Linked DNA regions of Homo sapiens: region 2 is linked to region 1. Evidence: promoter capture Hi-C in human tissues and cell types (Jung and others, 2019). All regions are on one chromosome and are shown on one strand. Each heading gives the region's core, a stretch centred on a gene start or on the middle of the fragment in contact. The rest is flanking DNA. Distances are from core to core; before and after follow the strand shown.

What was found. The method cuts DNA at HindIII sites, captures the fragments that hold promoters and counts their contacts. A contact is called where the count stands out against the background at its distance.
Region 2: a contact is called between a fragment that was not itself captured here and the fragment with the promoter of PI16 in region 1, in 2 of the 25 tissues and cell types used here (dorsolateral prefrontal cortex and spleen).

The regions. Positions count from the first base shown.
Region 1 is chr6:36,952,005-36,956,604 of GRCh38, reverse strand. It overlaps PI16 (peptidase inhibitor 16), which reads right to left and starts at 1,867. Exons shown (of 7, transcript NM_153370.3): 1 at 1,674-1,867. The coding sequence starts at 1,844. The HindIII fragment of the contact is 39,732 bases long and covers 1-4,600 here.
Region 2 is chr6:37,302,841-37,307,263 of GRCh38, reverse strand. All of the region lies in intron 8 of TBC1D22B (TBC1 domain family member 22B), which reads right to left. Among named protein-coding and RNA genes, the nearest start is that of TMEM217B, 47 kb to the right of the region's middle. RefSeq lists a silencer at 3,034-3,083. The HindIII fragment of the contact is 4,574 bases long and covers 1-3,550 here.

The sequences.
Region 1 (4,600 bases), core at 618-3,117:
ATTTGGCTGCAGAGTCCCTGCCCTCACCACTGCTGAGGTTGAACCTGAGTCTTGTCCTGAATGTTTCCTGGCATCCCAGCCCCAGCCTCATCTCCTCCTCCTCATGTCACTCCCCATTAGGCAGCAGCATATCCCCTCAGTATCCCAACTGCCTCCCAGAATGTTGCCCCACTCCAAGGCGCACCTCTGTCTGAGAAGCAGCTCCCAGCCTGTGTGGCCCCCAGTCTCAGCCAGCAAGACTGTAGGGCATCAGGGATCTACAGGTGGGGAAACTGAAGTCCAACAATGAGTCACAGGCCTCAATCAGGGAGCTGTTGGCAGAGCTGCATCTGTGACGCCTGGTTTGTTGTCCACCTTTCCTCGATGTGCAGGCTGGCACAGCTGTGAACGGCAGTGCTGGGTGTGTGCAGAGCTCTTCCTAGATCTTTCTTACGTGTCATCCTGTCTGACGCCCAGGGCAGGGATCGCCAGCCCCATGTTTCCATCTGGAAACAGAGGCCTTTGAAGGGAAAGGGGTCCACCCAGAGTTACTTCAGCCAGATCACATTAGGCTGAGGTTAGAACTTAGGTTTGGGGCCCCAGGCTCACTGTTATGTTCCCCAAGGTGCATCTGTTCTCTCAGGCACCAGCTCCAGGGGTCCCTGAACACTGCCCAGCAACCTCCCCAGTCACCTGAGGGTGGCTGGAGGGGACAAGCTAGTTCAGCCCTCAGGGAGGGCAGGAAGTGGGTGAATTTCTCACTTTATCTCCTTTAATTCTGCATATAGACAGCCCGCCTCTCACCCTACCATAAATAGCTCTTCCTGACAGAAGTAACCAACCCTAAATCTGGCTTCTGTCTCCTGTGTGCATGTACATGTAATGTTTACTACATCTGCGTGTTTCACCAGGACATAAATAGTATTTTTACATGTTTTCAGACTTCATGTAAAGAGATCCTACTGTGTATTTTTTAGAGATTTTATTTCCTCCCCCATTCAGTATGATATCTGTGAGATTCAATCCACACTGGTATATACGTAGCTCTAATTCTGACCGCCTTTTACAGATGAGACACGGGATCGGCAAGGTTACAGGACTTGCCTCGAATCATAGGTCTTGTAGGTGACCGAGACAGAATTTGGACTGTGTGATCCAGAGCCCTCTCTGCTTCTGGATCCTGCTGTCACCCACCTCCTTAGCACCTGCCTCCTACTCCACGTGCCCACGCCCATCCTGCTGCCCTGCTTCCTCTTGTCCTCTCCTTGGCAGGCATGTGAAAGACCGTTTTCACAAAGGTGTTAAGAACTTCCCGGGTTCCCCCACTGAGGGCACATGCATTTGAGGAAGTGCTGGGGAAAGCTCATTGGAGTGGGAAGCCAGGGCTTTGGGTCTGGCTCTACCAGCTGTGTGACCCCAACAAATCCCTCTGAGCCTCACTTTCCTTATCTGTATTATGAGGCTGCTTATAGGGGCCTGTGAATTTTATTAGGCGGGTGCAAAAGTAATTGTGGTTTTTGCCATTTAAAGTAATGTAATACCATGTCAGGGACTCGGGGACTCTGTCACTGACCAGAAAAAGGAGAGGAATTCTGAAATAGCTTCAGCATGAGGAGCAGGGTAAGAGAGCCTGGTGACAGACCCTGGCCAGCACCCCTTCCATCCCAGCCAGCAAGGGCCGTGGCCACACTTACCATGTGCAGCATGTCTGAGGCCGTCGGGGATACCTGGGCCCGGTAGAGGTTGTGCAGCTCCACCATCAAACGTTTCTCCTCATCTGTGAGGGCTCCAACGGGGCCTGTGGTGGCCACCAGCAGTAGCAGTAGCGGCAGCAGAAGCATCAGGAAACTGCAGGAGCCGTGCATGGTGGCCAGCCGTCTCTCCTTCTCCCGTCCAGGGGTCTGGCAGCTGGATTTAAAGTCCTTCCCACACAAGCACCACCCTGGCTGGGGTGGGGCAGTGGGGGCCGTGTTTGAGGCCCAGCCCGACTCACACAATGTCTCAGGGAGGGCTGGGCGCTTTGGGTCCCGACCAGCATCAAGTGCACTCCCCTTGGAGTCCTTGGCAAAAACCTCCTTTCTCTTGGTAACGGGGGCTCAGGCCAAAAGCTGTGTGAGTTCCTAAGTTGTGGACAGATCCTTCAGGGGCAAAATCACAGTAACCTCTGCAGAGCTGTGACTGGTTGCACCCAGGTCACACCCACTGTGTGTTGAAGATAGATAAGAGAAAGGAAACCACAGACCCTACCCACAGAGGAGTGGGCAAGATGAGGAAGCTATAGGCTTTTGAAAGGACAGAGGAAGACCAGATGTATTTGATAAAAGGCTGAGCCAACCTAAATCAGAATCCTGGTTCTGCCCCTTGCTATCTGTGTTTTGGCAGCTTTCTCAAGTGAATCAGTGACAATAATAGTACCTATCTCACAGGACTAGAGGGAAGATTCAATGACATATAATGTATGTAAAGCACCTAGTATGGTGTCTGGCACATAGTAGGCCCTCAGTAACAGTAGACAACCCACTCATGTGGCCTGGGCCTTAGCAGGCTACCAGCCCCCTGTGGAGGCAACATTCTTGCCTGCGGGGGGAGAGGCCAAGGTCTTCCCCACTCTAGCTGTATTCAGGAATAAGGCCTTTCACTATGGCAAAATTTTGGCTTCCAGGTATCCTCTCTGAATGCATGTGCTTGACATGCTCATTTGGAAGTGGGATGCTGGGACCCCTGTGCTCTAACTATGTAGAAATATAATGTGTCTGTTTCTTAAATCAAGAGAGAGCAGAAAAGCAGAAGGTTGAATGAGCTGATGCACCAGGAGCTCTGAGGGGAAGGTATTGGAAGGGAAATAGCCTTAGCAGTCAGGTGCTGGCATTATAATGACCTTGACCTTGCAGGGGCCATGACCGGTTCATGAAGCAGGAAGCTGGAACCAGTACTCTTGAGGACAGCTGGGATCCTTGAAGCCTGCTTCTTCAATGAATAGGGACCTAGAAAAAGTCTACCCACAGGCTTTGGAAGATGACAAGAAAACCTGTCCCTGCCTGAGTCTCCAAGTAAAAATAAAAACAAAACCAAGATGGATTACACACACATACACACACACACACACTTATTAGAATTAATAAAGTCAGCAAAGTTGCAGGATACAAAATTAACACATAGAAATTAGTTGTTTCTATACACTAATAATGAAAAATCCAAAAAGGAAATTAAGAAAACAATTTCATTTATAAAAGCAATGAAAAAGAATAAAAAGAATAAAATTCTTACCAATAAACTTTTTTTTTTTTTTTGAGATGGAGTCTCGCTCTGTCACCCAGGCTGGAGTGCAGTGGCATGATCTTGGCTCACTGCAACCTCTGCCTCCTGGGTTCAAGTGATTCTCCTGCCTCAGCCTCCCAAGTAGCTGGGACTACTTGCCCACCATGCTGCCCACCATAGCTGCTACCATGCCCGGCAAATTTTTGTATTTTTAGTAGAGATGGGGTTTCACCATGTTGGCCAAATGGTCTTGATCTCTTGACCTCGTGATCCGCCCGCCTCGGTCTCCCAAAGTGCTGGGATTACAGGTGTGAGCCACTGCGCCTGGCCCTTAGCAATAAACTTAACCAAGGAAGCAAAAGACTTGTACGCTGAAAATCACAAGTGTTGACAAACAAAGTGAAAGAAGACACAAATAAATGGAAAGTCATCCTATATTCATGGATTAGAAGACTTGATATTGCTAAGGTGTCAATGTTGCCTGAAGCAATCTACAGATTCAATGCAATCCCTATTGAAATGCAAATCATAATATTTTTATAGAAACAGAAAAATCCATCCTAAAATTTATATGGAATCTCAAAGGACCCCAAATAGTCAAAACAATCTTGAAAAAGAACAAAATTGGAAGTCTTACAGTTTCTGATTTTAATATGTAACCACAAATCTACAATAATTAAAATAGTGTGGTATTAGTATAAAGACAGACATTTAGACTAATGGAATAGAATAGCCCAGAAATAAACTCTTACACATATGGTCAAATGATTTTAGACAAGGGTACCAAGACCGTTCAACGAGGGAAAGGCAAGTCTTTTAAAGAAGACTTAGAAAACTGGAATGTCCACATGCGAAATAATGAAGTTGAATCTTTACCGTAAGTATATTAAAAAATTAACTCCAAAATGGATTAAATACCTAAACATAAAAGCTAAAACTACAAAACTCTTAGAAGAAAATATAAGGGGGACTTCTTGGCATTGGATGTGGCAAGGATTTCTTGGATATGACACCAAAAGCATAGGCAACAAAACAAAAATAAATTGGACTTCATTAAAATTAAGAACTTTCGGGGGCAGAGTGTAGTGGCTCATGCCTGTAATCCCAGCACTTTGAGAGGCCAAGGTGGGTGGATCACTTGAGGTCAAGAGTTCGAGACCAGCCTGGCCAACATGGTGAAACCCCGTCTCTACTAAAAATACAAAAATTAGCTGGGTGTGGTGGCAGGCGCCTGTAGTCCCAGCTACTCAGGAGGCTGAGGCAGGAGAATTGCTTGAACCTGGGAGGCAGAGGTTGCAGTGAGTCAAGATCCAGTCACCGCATTCCAGCCTGGGTGACGGAGTCTCAAAAGAAAAAAAAAAAA
Region 2 (4,423 bases), core at 14-2,513, 350 kb before region 1:
CAGCAACAAATATTTCATTCAGAAAAAAGCAGTTTTAAGAAAACTGTCAAGAATTCATCTTATCACTTCTATGTAATAATTTTGAACTGGTTCAAGCGCTATATATAAACGTATTGTTGGGTGTTATGCATCTGGCATTTTCAGGAAAGTACCTGATGGCAGCAGCTGAGACAATAATAGCACTGCAAACCTGTAAGTGTAGAGAGGGTGGAGAGGCCCCTCGCTAAACCTGGGAAAGCCAAACCACCTGACAAAGACAGGGGGAGCTGGTCTCTGAGAGAGATGGCCACTCCAATGAGATGGTTGGAGGAAAGACTTATTTCGAGATTCCCACAGAGAAGAGACCCACTGGGAGGTGGTTCTGTTTCACAAGGCCCATGTTTTTCTGACTGTCAGAGGAGATGTGCTATTTTGAAGATGCTGCTTAGCTGACCATACAGCATTCTGACACTGTGCCTGTCAATCAGGGTGGTGACTATTAACTCAGAATAATACATGAACTCTGGCTGCTCAGTATAGGATAGCATGGGTATACATGTATCATGATGCCCTGGTTAAAATTAATTTTAAAAACCAACATACCACCAAGTTTTCACTATTTTCCTTAGGTTGCTGTATTACTTTTACTTTTATTTAGCAAACATTAGTTGCTGCTGGTTAAGTCAGCCTCCTGACATTGGCTATAGGATCCCAGATTATATGAGCCCAAACTCTGAGTATTTGGGTTATGGAGTAAAGGAAGAGGAGGCAAAGGAAAGGCAAGGTCCAGCACATACTTAATCTTCTAGGACCTGCCCAAAGACCACTCACAGAGATGGGCAGCATGTTACTAAGACGCTGTGGATGTGAACAGGCTCTGGGAGGCTCAGGGTCCCCACTGCCAGTGTCAGCTGTTCACAGAGGCTACTCATGTAGGCTCAAATATCTTCAATATGTTGGCTACCTCAACATCTCCTCTGTTACGATTTCTCACTTATCCCTGGGGTCAGATGAGGGACAGAGAGCAAATGTGCACATCCTGCTCAGCTCACTGCCAGGGTAGAGGACTAGGCTAGGTCTTATAGTCTCAGAAATGACAAGCCACAACTTGCCCTTGGAGAGCTCACCTCCTGCAATGACAGGAAATCCAGCACTGGACGCACCACTGTCCCACCAAACGCACACACTGTCTTCAAGTGTCACTGAAAGCAGCTCAGCATCCTGACTGGGCTATCTCCACACACTGCTGGCAAGAGCCTCAATATTTCTCAGCTGCCTATCACATGGGAGGCTGCTTCATCTACGAAGATGGGGCCAGGAGGCAGCTTGAGTCCCAAATAGGGTGGCTGCTAAAAACTCAGCATCAAGCCCACTCCCCACCAATTCCCTCCAAACTAACAACATTAAAGTGGAAAATTCTTACTATATGATTCAAATTAGATAAAGCTTAGAAATAGGCAAAACTGACCGGGCGCGGTGGCTGACGCCTGTAATCCTAGCACTTTGGGAGGCCGAGACGGGTGGATCACGAGGTCAGGAGATCGAGACCATTCTGGCTAACACAGTGAAACCTTGTCTCTACTAAAAATACAAAAAAATAATAGCCAGGCGTGGTGGCGGGCGCCTGTAGTCCCAGCTACTCGGGAGGCTGAGGCAGGAGAATGGCGTGAACCCGGGAGGCAGAGCTTGCAGTGAGCCAAGATTGCGCCACTGCACTCCAGCCTGGGGGACAGAGCAACACTCCGTCTCAAAAAAAAAAAAGGAAATAGGCAAAACTAATCTAGGTGTTAGAAATCAGTAAAGTAGTTACCCTTGTAGGGGCAGGGGAGGAGAGGACGGGGTAGGGACTAGGAGGGAACACAAAGGGACTTCTGAAGTCCTAGAAACGTTCCACGTCTTGCTGTGAGTGCTGGTTATTTTGGGGAAATTCATCGAACTGTGCATGTATGACAGATGCACTTTTCTAAATGTATGATTTAATATGAAGTTCACATTTTAAAAAGCAGAAAAGGAATGGCCTCTTGAGACAATAATAAAGTTTGTCCAGTTTCATCTTTGGCCTAGCCAGACAGGGAGGAACAGACTGGGCAAAGCTGATGCAAAGAGTCAGATGTAAGATGGAGGATGCCGCCTCCCAGGACTGAGCGTGGGGGGCGAGCACAATCCACAACAGCCCAGGAGCAAGACAAGACAACAGGATCCACACTACCTTTTCTTTGAAAATGTGAGTGTTGACTATCAAAAATTAACTGCACAGCTCCCTCCCTTACCTCCTTCAGGGCTCTGCTCAAATGTCATCTCCTCAGTGTGAAGGCGGCTCACCACCCGGTTTAAAACCTGCCTCCTGCTCCCACACTTGCCAGCATGGCACATCCCTGTCCCTCTTTCTTGCTTTGTTTCTATCCATAGCACTTATCTCAATCCTACAAATATCTGTTTTTTCAGTTGATTGTCTGTTTCTGCCCACCAGAAATTAAACTAAGAAAGCGATTTTTTTAAAAAAGTAGAATTACGCATAGTAAACTGCACATATGTGCACAGTTCTATGAGTCTTGACACATGTTTATGTCTATGGTTTAAAAAAAAAATGCCCCCATCCAAATAGAGAATATTTCCATCACCCCGGAAATGTTTCCTTATGCTCATTCTCAGCCCACCTCCCACCATAGGTAAACTTTGCTCTCATTTCTATCGCCATAGATAAGCTTTACCTATTTTTAACTCCATATAATGTGAATCATACAATATATATATTTTTTGGTATCTGGCTTCTTTCATTCTGTTTCATGGTTTCTGAGACTCTTCCATGTTGCTGTACTACTAATAGTACGTTCTCATTTATTGCTGAGTACTGCTCTGTGGTATGGATATCTGTTCTCATATTAGCTGATATTAGGGTTGTTTCATTTTATGTCTGTATAAAGTTGCTGTGAATATGTTTGTGCATGTCTTTTGGGGCTATAAGCCTTCATTTTCCTTGAATAAATACCTAGAAGTAGAAGGCAGGGTTTTTGTCTACTTCGTTTATGGTCATAAACCCCAGTGCCTAGAGCAGTGCCCTGCACATGTGGGTGCTCATCAAAGACTTGTTGACTAAGTGGTGGTGCTCCACCTCCATCCCTTAGGGGAGAGAGAACTTTCGGCTAATTCAGCACAGTATCAGAAAAGTGTAACTCACTGCCCTCCAGTGGCCAAGCCTAGTGAAGCTGTACTAATTTCTGAGTATTCTGCAGTTATGGAATTTTCATTCTCTCATTCATCTGGACATGTGTGGAATGCCTATTTTGGACACCAAAATGAAGGTACTGGGGATATGAAGATGTTTAAAATACTCTTTGGCCTCAAAGAATCAGAAAGTCTGGTGGCAGAGAGTAGGAGGGAAACACAAACAACTAGCGAGGTAAAGTGCCACAGGAGAAATCTACAGAGTGACAGAAATAGCACTATTAGATGCCGGGGGTCAGGGGGACCCCAGGGAAGGCTTCTAGGAGGAAGGGGAGTCTTAAAGGGTGCACAAAGATTAGCTCAGGAGATAAAGAGGTGGTGCAGGACAAGGCTTTACATTTACAATGTCCATTTTGGATTGTTGAGTTTAAGGGGCGAAGCAGGGAGCAGGTCACAGGGCCTTTACATGCCAAGTTAGAAAACCTGGACATTTAACCTATAGGTGATGGAATGCTAAGGAAGGATTTTTGTCAGAGGAGTTCTGTGGGCGAGTCTCTGTTTGAATGGTGTGCAAGATGGGTTTGAAGGAGATAAAACCGGGGGTGAGAAAACATGCTTGGCTGGTTCAGCAATCCAGGCCTGACCTAGGGCGTGCATAGTGAGAATGAAGAAGAAGCAGATTAAGAAACATTTAGGACGTAAAATCACCAGAGCTTTGTAAATGATTGGATATGGAAGAGTAAGGAAACAGAATCATGAACAATTCTTAGCATTTCTGACTTAAGTGACAGGAAATACTGCCAACTAAGAGAAAAGGGTGCCTGGGTAAGGGAAGGAGAAGAGCCAAACACCGAGTCTGAGGAGCCTAAGAATAGCAAAGATTGCCTAAAAATAACTGTTCCCTTCTTCCTCCTTGGTGACAGGACCCCTAAGTGTATTGGCCACCTAAGACAGACTGTTTCTCAGCCTCACTTGCTGCTAGGTGTGCCCACGAGATTAAGTTCAAACAAAAGAGAATCAAGCCCCAGAGTCATGCACAGCTTTCAGAAATGTTCTTAAACAGAAGAAGTATGCCTTGCTTCCTTTCCTTCTCCATACTGGCTGGAATATTGATGTGATGGCTGGAGCACAAACAGCTCTTGGATCATGAGAAAGAAACCACATGCTGAAGACTGCAGAATGAGAGAGAGCAACCTGGATCTCTGATATTTTGGAGCAGCAGATAAGCCCCAGATCACTCACCTCTGGACTTTTAATGTGAGAGAAATAAGCTTTTCTA